Linked DNA regions of Homo sapiens: all the other regions are linked to region 3. Evidence: promoter capture Hi-C in human tissues and cell types (Jung and others, 2019). All regions are on one chromosome and are shown on one strand. The core of a region is centred on a gene start or on the middle of the fragment in contact, and the rest is flanking DNA. Distances in the headings are between cores, read along the strand shown.

Region 1 (4,170 bases), core at 137-2,636, 35 kb before region 3:
TATAAAAACTCCGGTATATACAACGACAGATATTTCATCATCTCTGGCCCCTAGCAAATAGTTGCATCCTTGAGTGAATCATTTCAGCTCTCTGTGACTTTGTAATTCCAATCTTATATCCTGTACACTGCCTAGTGCCTTCTGGAAATAAATGGGAACATGCCTGAACTTTCCAGATAAATTTACCAGCCCTTTAGCCCTTCCCCTCTCGGCTCTCTGTTTCTTCCCTGTTTCTCGAGAACACGCACATGGTTTACAGCGTGCTTTACAGCGTTTCAAGCCCAAACAGAACACGCTCCACAGGGAAGGGGCTGATTGGTTTAGTTTTCAGGCAGCCCCGCGAGGGGTGGTAATTGACACTTGAACAATGACATGTTGCATTCCTTCATATCGCAGCAGTAATTGAACACACATGAACCCCCTGCACTGGTGACCCTGGAGTGTGCCACACACCTGGAAATAGTGAGGTTCAATTAATATGTCACCGCCACTAAGCAGCTACCAGTGAGAACCACCAGTCAGCTGCCACAGCCCAGCGGTCACAGAACAAAGCAGAGAGCAATGCGGGGTGAACCCCGGGAGCTGCTGCTCCCCTGCAGAGCTTCCCCGGACTGGCCCCTAAAATCTGGTTTTCCCAAAAAAACTTACTCACTTTTAATGACTCCAATTAATTTTATCTAACAGCTTTGTTCACCTCTCCCTCAAAGAGTTATTTTTGCATTAAAATAGCAAAATGCTCAACTAGAAGGGGACGGCAATGACCCAGCTAAATTTTTGTGATGACACTTTTAATATAAAAAACAGATCAGAAATGGAATATGATATGAATATGAATATGAAAGGCGGGATTCAAGCCAAGGAAATAAAGAAAGAATGATGGATTCCACCTCTTTCATTCAGTCCCTTGAGTATTTGTGGTGTGCTGACAGTAGCCCGGGGTTACTGCAGAGATTATTGCAAGCCTGGCAGCTGCTCTTCCAGAGCTCACAGACTCGGGGTGATAGCACAATGATGTGGGACAAATCCCCCGAGGCAGAGAATGGGGCACCCAGGGCAGCCTCATCAGTGCCCTCCCCTCATCTGGAAATCTCAGGAGACTTCCTGGAGGAAGCTGCATCTAAGCTGGAGAAGCAGCAGGAGTGAGGAGGGGAAGAGAAGGGAGAGGGGAGAGGGGTCCAGGCAGAGGCCAGCACTGCCAAGGCTGTGAGGCCAGAGAGAAAGTGGCAACATGAGGAGGGGGTGCAGAAGGAAAAGGGGAGTTTGGAAGCCAAGGTCAGAAGTGGGCACTTCCATTTCAGAGCCTAGTTACACTTTTTCCAGAACCAATAGCTATTCTCCTCCTTAAACACACACACACACACACACACACACACACACACACACACACAGAGAGAGAAAGAGCGAGAGAGAATATTAGCATTCAAACAAGAGTAAAGCTACAATTTTGGCATATTCTTGGAAGAGAGGAAAATGGACATTTCATTTTATATTTAATAAATTCCATTTAATTAATTAACAAAACCTGGCAGCACTCCCCGAATGAATGAAAATCTGCCAAATCTGAAGGCCAACAACGCTGTTGCACAAAGTCTGACAACTTGCTGTCCCTGGCCACACCCCAGCCCAGATCTCCCTGCCAGCCTTGTCATTTTGTCGTGCGTTTGCTGGCAGTGGCACGCAGCGGGTTACTTCGGGTCTCTGGGCTCAGGCTTCCCCTGTAAGGTGAGGAGCTGTGACTTAGGTATACTGCACTTTAGCACTGGGATTGGCCTCCAGAGAGAACAGGGGCAATCCGGGACACCCCGCTGGTCCCTCTGTGACCCACTCTTGGCCCTTAAGCTCCCTAAGGAGGGAGGTCTCCTGTCTATACAGGACCAATCTAGGCTACTCTAGACATCAAGATACTGTAGGGTGCTTCCAGTTAGGCAGGTGTTTCTCTCTCTCTCTCTCTCTCTCTTTTTTTTTTTTTTTCAGACAGAGTCCCTCTGTCACCCAGGCTGGAGTGCAGTGGCGCAGTCTCGGCTCACTGCAACCTCTGCCTCCTGGGTTCAAGCGATTCTCCTGCCTCAGCCTCTCGAGTAGCTGGGATCACAGGCATGCACCACCACGCCCAGCTAATTTTTGTATTTTTGGTACAGATGGAGATTCACAGTGTTGGCCATGCTGGTCTCGAACTCCTGACTTCGTGATCTGCCCGTCTTGGCCTCCCAAAGTGCTGGGATTACAGGCATGAGCCATCATGCCCGGCCAACATGTGTTTATCTCTACACTCTCCTCAAATCTCACTAAAATGACAGTAAAGGCAAAAAAAGGAACACACTTGCAGAGACAACAAGGTCAGGAGAAGAAACCGTGGAATATGAGAAAGCTTAGCAATATTTTGAAGGGAGAACAATGCATGGGCTAATGGTCTCTGGCTTAGCGGGCTGGAGAGAGATGAGCCCTGCCAGCTGGAGTGAGGTGGAGGGGGTGAGCCCTCAAGAAACAAGATGATTTCTGATCCAGAATCACAGAAACACTCAGAAATCAGGGGCTCCATATATATATATATATATATATATTTTTTTTTTTTTTGACATAGGGTCTCACATTGTCACCCAGGCTGGAGTTCTGTGGCATGATCTCGGCTCACTGCAGCCTTGACCATCCAGGTTCAAGTGACCCTCCTGCCTCAGCCCTCCAAGTAGCTGGGTCTACAAAGGCACACCACCACACTCAGCTAATTTTTTTTTTTTTTTGTATTTTTAGTAGAGACAGGGTTTCACCATGTTACTCAGGCTAGTCTCAAACTCTTGAGCTCAAGCGATCCGCCCGCCTCAGCCTCCCAAAGTGCTAGGATTTCTGGCATGAGCCACGGCACCCGGCCAGCCCCAGGTATTTCTGAATGTGAGAGTACACCAGCAAGCTGCGGAGGAGGGTTGGTTGGAAGACTGTGCAGGGGAAGGCAGACCCTCAGGCCCCTCCTGGGTGCACCAGTGTTGCTGGTGCTGCTCACCTGATCTCTGAATGTCTGCTGCTTGCCCTCCCCTTCAGAATACTGGATATTTCCTCTCTGACCAGGTGAACCAGAGAGGCTCAGGGCACTGGATCCAGCTGAGGGCAGCAGAATGAAAAGCATGCTCACTGAACAGGGAGATAAACCCACCCCATCCAATGGTGTTGAAAAGTATGGTGTAGTCTTGGAGGGACCAGTGTTCCCAAACTTGCAGGATATCGCCGGAACCCAAACTGAAATTATGGTTTAATGCCTCTCAAAACTGGTGAGCCCACTGTTCTTCTCACATGTATCTCCATATGTGGACGTGCACCAGAGCCTTTTTCTACCCTCTGAAGGAGAGAAGCGTTCTGTTTAGGGGCTCGTAGAAGAGAGGAACATGAGAAGGCTGAGAAGAGTGGAGGACCCAACAGAGAACTACCATCTCCAGTCTCCCAGGCTGGGTTGAGCCTCAGCAGAAAAGCGTGTTGACCTCAGCACGGGCAGTGGAAAACCAGACATCCAATGTGTTTGCAAGAAATATTCATTTAGATTCACAGAGCTCTTGGTCTAAGCCTAGGATCTTGGTAGGAGAGGGAGGCGGGGGTCTTTGGCCTCTGGGATTCATTGTATCAACCACCAGCAATCTTTGGAATGGGCCAGCTGCTCCCTAGGCCAGAGCTGTTAGGGCTGGAGGCGGGGAGGCCATTTGGACAGTTGAAGAACTCTGTAAAACTACCTTATGCACCTGCAGGTAAAGTCACATTTTGGGGTTATCAAAGTCTAAATTAAATGGTACATAGTATAATTAGTGCTGGATTGGGAAAGAGAAGAATTGCTCATTATATACCCACCGCTGTCATTATTGGGACAAAACGATCTTCCACTGGCCCCACCAGAGCCCACCTCTGCAAGGGCCACGGCCAGCATCCTCACCCACAATTGCTGCCTCACTCGTGGGTTCTTTCACGTGGCTGTGTGGACCATGTAGGTGACCTCCCCCGTGCTCTCTCTGAGCCACTGTAAAAAAACTGATTCTTCAGTGCATGGGAAGTTCCTGTGGCCCTGCCGGTTCTCGGACCCGGCCTTGACCCGAAGGGCACTGATGTTCTGCTCAAGTGCAGAAGGGCTGGATTTTGCAGGGTCAGGAAATACATTTGTGCAGTGACTACAAGATCCCCCTGACATCTTGGTTT
Region 2 (3,575 bases), core at 269-2,768, 35 kb after region 3:
TCCACAGATGCGTGGTGTGCTGGGCTCCGTGTGGACTGGGACCCGGGAACTCGATACTCCCAGGGTGTCGCTGTTGCTCTTCCCTCCCCAAATCTCTATGGACAGAAACCCGTGACAACCAGGACTTATGGCTGAGCAGGCACAGACGGCTTCTTCCTTGCTCCTTGACTCATGTGGAGACTTGGAGGTGTGAACAACCCTTTTGTGTCTTTTGTTAAAGACCAAATCATGATCTCATAACCATCTCTGTCATTCTGGAGACCAAGCTTGGTAGAGAAGCAGCTGCTTAGTGTTCGGATGGAACTTCTCCGTCGGTGTCACTAATATGGGAGCTAGAAAGTTTTCTTGAGCAAACTGGGTATGGTGTGTCAATTCTAGAATCAGATATCCAGGAGACTTGATCAGGCGGGTGTGAAGAGCAGAGTGGAGGGGCTCTGCAGTAGCAAGAGCAGTTGGGAGACGGGAGAGGCATTTGCCTCGAGGGCATAGAGCTGTGCTGTGCCCTAGAACAGTCTGGGACTTGGAGAGTGAAGGTGAGGGCTCATACCTCCACACGCTCCCCCTGCCACTGTTGGGGCGGAGGGGCTGACCAGCTGTTCTAAGGGAAAGCCCCAGCCCTGGGGGGTCTGGAGCCCCCTTCCATGGAGGCAGGAGAATGCTGGGGAGTTTAAAGCATACCCCCGAATTACAGCAAGAGAAGACTTGCTCTTCACAGCGGGCTGAAAGGCAGGAAATTAGGCCTCTAAGCACAGAGACAAAACTGAGGGAATCAAAAATCTCTTTTTTTTTAATGAGATGGAGTCTCGCTCTGTTGCCCAGGCTGGAGTGCAGTGGCATGATCTCAGCTCACTGCAGCCTCTGCCTCCTGGGTTCAAGCAATTCTCGTGTCTCAGCCTCCCAAGTAGCTGGGATTACAGGTGCCCACCACCACGCCTGGCTAATTTTTTTAGTTTTAATACAGACAGGGTTTTGCCATGTTGAGCAGGCTGGTCTTGAACTCCTGACCTCAAGTGGGACTACGGGTGTGAGCCACTGCACCTAGACAAAAGTCTTCTTTTTAAATACCATGTCTTTTATCTCACACTGCCTGGCTAACCCAGGAAGCAGGGATTTTTTTTTTTTTTTTTCAGACAGAGTCTTGCTCTGTCACCCAAGCTGGAGTGCAGTGGTGCGATCTCGGCTCACTGCAAGCTCCTCTTCCCGGGTTCATGCCATTGCCCTGCCTCAGCCTCCCAAGTAGCTGGGACTACAGGCGCCCGCCAGCAAGCCTGGCTAATTTTTTTTGTATTTTTAGTAGAGACGGGGTTTCACCGTGTTAGCCAGGATGGTCTCAATCTCCTGACCTCGTGATCCGCCCGCCTCGGCCTCCCATAGTGCTGGGATTACAGGCGTGAGCCACCATGCCCGGCCCGAAGCAGGGATTTTTTTCCCCATTTGCTTTGGAACAGTCATGAAGCCCACAGTGGTGCTCAGTCAGTGCCTCCTCTGTGTCCATCATGGGTAGATGCTTTCACTTATAGACTCTGACCTGCGGGCAGTTTGGGGAGCTGTGTCCCTCTCGTGCCCTTTTCCCAGGTGATCAGGGTGAGACTCAGGGGACACTTGTCCAAGGGCAGCAGTGGAGCTGGGGCAGGACCAAAGTCCAGCCCATTGGCTGTCGTGCTGTCAGCCGTCACCACCACACCACACCACACCACGGGGCTTAACCTTGGAGATGTGGGCTGGTGGCTGTTCTGTAGGATCCCAGCCCTCCTGAGCTTGCCTGGCTCACCAGACCCACAAGGTGATTTTATTTGAGGGGTCTTCTGTGGTTTATATGATGAAGCCACTTTATCTCACAGGAAGTTTCCAGATATTGAAGTTGTCCAAGGGGACTCTGAAAGGGCAAGCAGGCACAGGCTCAAAAAGGTAGGCGTGTTTAGAAATTAGACGGGGCATGGCTTTCTTTTCCAAATGAGCCAGAATTGGTAATTCAAAGAAAACAGAAAATAGCAAGATTGACAGTGATTGCTACTGTCCTGTGACTCTGACCTTAGCTGTGCTAGAGAAACAACCAGAAAAGACTGCACCCCAGCCAGGCCGGTGGGTTGGTGTGGTCTTGGAGTTCACCATGAGTGTGCCTGCCTCAGTTTCCCCTGGCAGCTTTGAGAGGGAGGGGAAGCAAGGATAGTCTCAGATGATGGGGAGTTCTTTGGTTCCAGCGTGGGAACCACCTGCAGGGCTGAGCAGCAGCCTCCCCTCAGAGCACTCAACTGGAATGTCACACGCCTCTCCAAAGCTAGAACTCTCTGGGAAGACAGTCAACTCCCAAGCAGGGTCTTCAGAGTCGGGGTCTTCATGGTATGGAGCTTTGTGATTGTGGAGGCCTCACTCTCCTTCCCAGGTACAGAACCTGGGCCAGAGGGGCCAACCCCAGGCCTCCTGTTCCTGCCTCTCCATCCCCAGGGCTGGGTGGCACCTGTTTGATTTCCTGAAACTCCAGAAGCTGCCCCAGAGCCTGGAGTTGAAGTGCAATGGTTGATTTGGACAGTGACTAGACATGGCCAGGGGAGGAGTGAGCCAGAGAAGAGAAGGAGCCACAAAGGGTGTTGTCCACTGGCTACAGCCGAGGGAGGCTGGCGCTCAACGCCGGGGATACCCCAGAGCCAGTGTCATCAAGCAGAGGGGAGAGTGAGCTGAGGTATTGATACCCCTGTGCCTGTCAGTCAGTAGCTGGAGGGCAGCTCTCAGGGGGCCTTGATTGCCTGGCTTACCCCCAACATGGTCAGGGTGGGCCCTGCCAAAGAAAGGCCTCAGTGGGGGAGAACAGGTCAGGCCAGTGGATGTGGCTGGGCCAGAGCAAGGCTGATGTCTTCACAGCCTGTCGTCAGCTTCCTCCCTGCTGGGCCTTCATCCAGGCTGTGTTAAGATGTTCTCTGTTCTAACCTTCCACAAGTTTCTCCCTTCCGAGCCCTGTCTGTCATCTTTCCCTTGTCCACAGAGGCCACGCCTCTCTCTGGGGGTCCCTGTTGGCTGACAGGAGCGTCCTTACACCCACACCACTGCTGTGTGAGGGCTGAGGGAAGCCCATCCCCCACACTCTCCAGCTCTGTCTCCACTCCTGGCTTTGTACCAATAGCTGCTGCTCTCCTCTTGGGGACATGTGCCCCACTGCTGCTTGGCCCCACAGAGTCCCAACCAAGGGACCTCAGGTCTGGACGATGCTTTTGTCTTGTGGTGTTTGGGTCCTGATGGGGACTTGGGGACTGTCTTAGTGTCCCAGGCACAATTCAGCCCTCAACTAGGTCATTCCTTAATATGTCCGTATCCTCACTCAAGTTGTGGGGAGAGGCCCTTCCCATATTATAGCTGCAGAGGCCGACTTGGGGAGGACAGGGGAGAAGCTGAGAAGGTGGGAGGCCCCATTTTGAAATGGGACTTGTTAGTCCTGTCACACAGTGCTTTGGTGGCTGACAGCCCGGCTCAGGGCCTGGCTTGAGGGAAGGGCAGTGAGGCCAGACTTCCTATTCAGCCTCCTGCCCTCCCAGGTTCCACCAGGGTCCCCACTGTGGCCACTGCAGACCTGAGACTCAAGT
Region 3 (3,614 bases), core at 47-2,546:
TCCCGGGCCAGTGGCGAGAGCAGTGACACCGAGAACCCAAATCTCCGCGCCCCCATCCGCGGCCCGGTGTCCTCCCGGCCCCTGCTGACCTCCAGGTCACGCACCCCACTGCTCCACGGCTCTGCAGCCTGTGGCACACGGCCGAGAGTCCCCACATGATCTCGACGCCAAGGTAAGGAATTGCCCTGCGTCCTCTGAGCCTGTCTCTGGCCTGGGGGGCCGGGAAAGCTGCACTCCTGGAAGAGGTGGGGTTATGTGACCGCCGCTGCAGGGGTGCGCGGAGGACTCCTGGGCCGCACACCCATTTCCAGGCTGCGGGAGCCGGACAGGGGAGGGCAGAGGGGGGACAAAAGGACTCTTTAGGTCCAAAATGACCCTGAAGGAGAGTCCAGAATGCCCAGTGGCCGCGTCTGCAACGGAGTCTTCTTTCTCCAATTGCCTTCTGCCCCATCACCATGGGCCCCACCTGCGCCACCTGCGCCCACCCTGTGACCCTGGCTCAGCGACCTTGGCCCTTAATCGCCCAACGCCGATTCCTCAAAATTCCGGCTGCGCTGAATCGGGCTGCTTTTGCCGCCGCCCCGGCAGTTGGGCCCTGTTTCCGCCGGCGCCCTGGGAGAGGCCTCACCACTCGGCTGGGCTCCCTGGCCCCTCCCTTCCCCTGGCCTGAGCGCCCCTGCGGCCTCCCGCTCCTCCTGAGAAGGCGACAATCTCTTTGCACCTTAGTGTTTCGAGGACAGAAAGGGCAGAAGGGTCACTTCGGAGCCACTCGCGCCGTTTTCACGTGTGTGTGTAATGGGGGGAGGGGGGCTCCCGGCTTTCCCCTTTTCAGCTCTTGGACCTGCAACACCGGGAGGGCGAGGACGCGGGACCAGCGCACCCTCGGAAGGCTCGATCCTCCCCGGCAGGGCGCCTGGCCAACGAGTCGCGCCGCCTCCTCTCGGCCGCGCCTGCTGGTGACCTTCCCGAGAGCCACAGGGGCGGCCTCGGCACCCCTCCTTCCCTCGCCCTCCCTGCCGCCCATCCTAGCTCCGGGGTCCGGCGACCGGCGCTCAGGAGCGGGTCCCCGCGGCGCGCCGTGTGCACTCACCGCGACTTCCCCGAACCCGGGAGCGCGCGGGTCTCTCCCGGGAGAGTCCCTGGAGGCAGCGACGCGGAGGCGCGCCTGTGACTCCAGGGCCGCGGCGGGGTCGGAGGCAAGATTCGCCGCCCCCGCCCCCGCCGCGGTCCCTCCCCCCTCCCGCTCCCCCCTCCGGGACCCAGGCGGCCAGTGCTCCGCCCGAAGGCGGGTCTGCCATAAACAAACGCGGCTCGGCCGCACGTGGACAGCGGAGGTGCTGCGCCTAGCCACACATCGCGGGCTCCGGCGCTGCGTCTCCAGGCACAGGGAGCCGCCAGGAAGGGCAGGAGAGCGCGCCCGGGCCAGGGCCCGGCCCCAGCCGCCTGCGACTCGCTCCCCTCCGCTGGGCTCCCGCTCCATGGCTCCGCGGCCACCGCCGCCCCTGTCGCCCTCCGGTCCGGAGGGGCCTTGCCGCAGCCGGTTCGAGCACTCGACGAAGGAGTAAGCAGCGCCTCCGCCTCCGCGCCGGCCGCCCCCACCCCCCAGGAAGGCCGAGGCAGGAGAGGCAGGAGGGAGGAAACAGGAGCGAGCAGGAACGGGGCTCCGGTTGCTGCAGGACGGTCCAGCCCGGAGGAGGCTGCGCTCCGGGCAGCGGCGGGCGGCGCCGCCGGGTTGCTCGGAGCTCAGGCCCGGCGGCTGCGGGGAGGCGTCTCGGAACCCCGGGAGGCCCCCCGCACCTGCCCGCGGCCCACTCCGCGGACTCACCTGGCTCCCGGCTCCCCCTTCCCCATCCCCGCCGCCGCAGCCCGAGCGGGGCTCCGCGGGCCTGGAGCACGGCCGGGTCTAATATGCCCGGAGCCGAGGCGCGATGAAGGAGAAGTCCAAGAATGCGGCCAAGACCAGGAGGGAGAAGGAAAATGGCGAGTTTTACGAGCTTGCCAAGCTGCTCCCGCTGCCGTCGGCCATCACTTCGCAGCTGGACAAAGCGTCCATCATCCGCCTCACCACGAGCTACCTGAAGATGCGCGCCGTCTTCCCCGAAGGTGAGGCCTCAGGTGGGCGGCCGGGGACGCTGGGGAGCCCGGCGGCCCCGGCCCAGGCGGGAAGCGCAAGCCAGCCCGCCCAGAGGGGTTGCCGCGGCCTGGCGTCCAGAGCTGGGGCGTCTGAGGGAGGTTGCGTGAGGGTCTTCGGCTTCGGCGCTGGCTTGGGGCGAGGGGCCAGGGCCTTGGCGGCCCAGGCGACCAAACCCTCTCCTGGTCCAGGGCTGGGTGAGGGCGAATTACGAATTGTTCCAGGGGCAGGCAGTCCCCCAGCCCGCACGGCCAGCGAGTTCTTTCTGGTTTTGTTCTTTCTCCCTTTCCTCCTTCCTTCCTTCGCCAGTGCATTCTGGTTTGGTTTGGATTTTTTTCTCTCTTTCTTTCCTTTCTTTCTTTCTTTCTCTTTCTTTTTCTTTCTTTCTTCCTCTTTCTTTCATTCTCCCCTTCCTTCCTTCCTTGGCCCCCTCTCTCCCTCCCTCCTTCCTTCCTTCCTTTGCCAATGCATTGGTTTGTTTTCTTTCCTTTTCTGCTTTCCTTCCTTTCTTTGGAAGTTCACTCTGGTTTTGCTTTCTTTCTTTCCCCATCCCTTCCTTTCTTTATCCCTCCTTCCCTTCCTCCTTTTCTTTCTACGATTCCCTTTATTTTTCCTTCATTCCTCCCTCTTTTTGTCTCTTCTGGAGGAGGTGAAGGAGGGTCAGCTTCAGGCGCTGCGAGTCAGCGGGGATCACGGTGAGGCCCAAGCACTGCAGGCTGAGGCCACAGAGCGAACACTTGTGCTGAGCCGGGCCCTCTCGTGAGGCTGGGGTGCGGGAAGTCCGGGCAGGAGAGACCCGCCCCCGCCGTTGCTGAGCTGAGACCCGGCTGAAAGAGAGGGGTCCGATTAATTCGAAAATGGCAGACAGAGCTGAGCGCTGCCGTTCTTTTCAGGATTGAAAATGTGCCAGTGGGCCAGGGGCGCTGGGACCCGCGGTGCGGAAGACTCGGAACAGGAAGAAATAGTGGCGCGCTGGGTGGGCTGCCCCGCCGCCCACGCCGGTTGCCGCTGGTGACAGTGGCTGCCCGGCCAGGCACCTCCGAGCAGCAGGTCTGAGCGTTTTTGGCGTCCCAAGCGTTCCGGGCCGCGTCTTCCAGAGCCTCTGCTCCCAGCGGGGTCGCTGCGGCCTGGCCCGAAGGATTTGACTCTTTGCTGGGAGGCGCGCTGCTCAGGGTTCTGGTGGGTCCTCTGGGCCCAGGAGCTGGGAGGGCTGCGCCGGCCTCTGGAGCCCCGGGAGCCAGTGCCGAGGTAGGGAGACAACTTCCGCCGCAGGGCGCCGGACGGTCGGGGCAGAGCAGGCGACAGGTGTCCCTAGGCCGCAGGGCGCTTCCATAGCGCCATCCCCACCAGGCACTCTACTCGAAATCGGAAAGCTCGACCTTTTGCGTTCGCCTCTGCCAAGCCTGTTATTTGTGCTGGCCGCTGGGTCTGGAGCTGCGCTTCTCGGCCCCTCCCCGGTGGAGCGCAGAGGGCTGGTCTGCAA

What was found. The method cuts DNA at HindIII sites, captures the fragments that hold promoters and counts their contacts. A contact is called where the count stands out against the background at its distance.
Region 1: a fragment that was not itself captured here is called in contact with the fragment with the promoter of SIM2 in region 3 in 1 of the 25 tissues and cell types used here (H1 embryonic stem cells).
Region 2: a fragment that was not itself captured here is called in contact with the fragment with the promoter of SIM2 in region 3 in 2 of the 25 tissues and cell types used here (IMR-90 fibroblasts and spleen).

The regions. Positions count from the first base shown.
Region 1 is chr21:36,663,165-36,667,334 of GRCh38, forward strand. The region is part of intron 1 of LOC105369308 (a long non-coding RNA gene); the gene reads right to left. Among named protein-coding and RNA genes, the nearest start is that of SIM2, 34 kb to the right of the region's middle. The HindIII fragment of the contact is 5,223 bases long and covers 1-3,998 here.
Region 2 is chr21:36,732,451-36,736,025 of GRCh38, forward strand. The region is part of intron 7 of SIM2 (SIM bHLH transcription factor 2); the gene reads left to right. Among named protein-coding and RNA genes, the nearest start is that of SIM2, 35 kb to the left of the region's middle. The HindIII fragment of the contact is 5,714 bases long and covers 1-3,575 here.
Region 3 is chr21:36,697,819-36,701,432 of GRCh38, forward strand. It overlaps SIM2 (SIM bHLH transcription factor 2), which reads left to right and starts at 1,297. Exons shown (of 11, transcript NM_005069.6): 1 at 1,297-2,103. The coding sequence starts at 1,929. It overlaps LOC105369308 (a long non-coding RNA gene), which reads right to left and starts at 1,173. Exons shown (of 3, transcript NR_188246.1): 1 at 1,091-1,173. LOC107985492 (a long non-coding RNA gene) reads left to right here and starts at 2,698. Exons shown (of 4, transcript XR_001755029.1): 1 at 2,698-3,614. RefSeq lists enhancers at 2,524-3,117, 3,118-3,614. The HindIII fragment of the contact is 19,577 bases long and covers 1-3,614 here.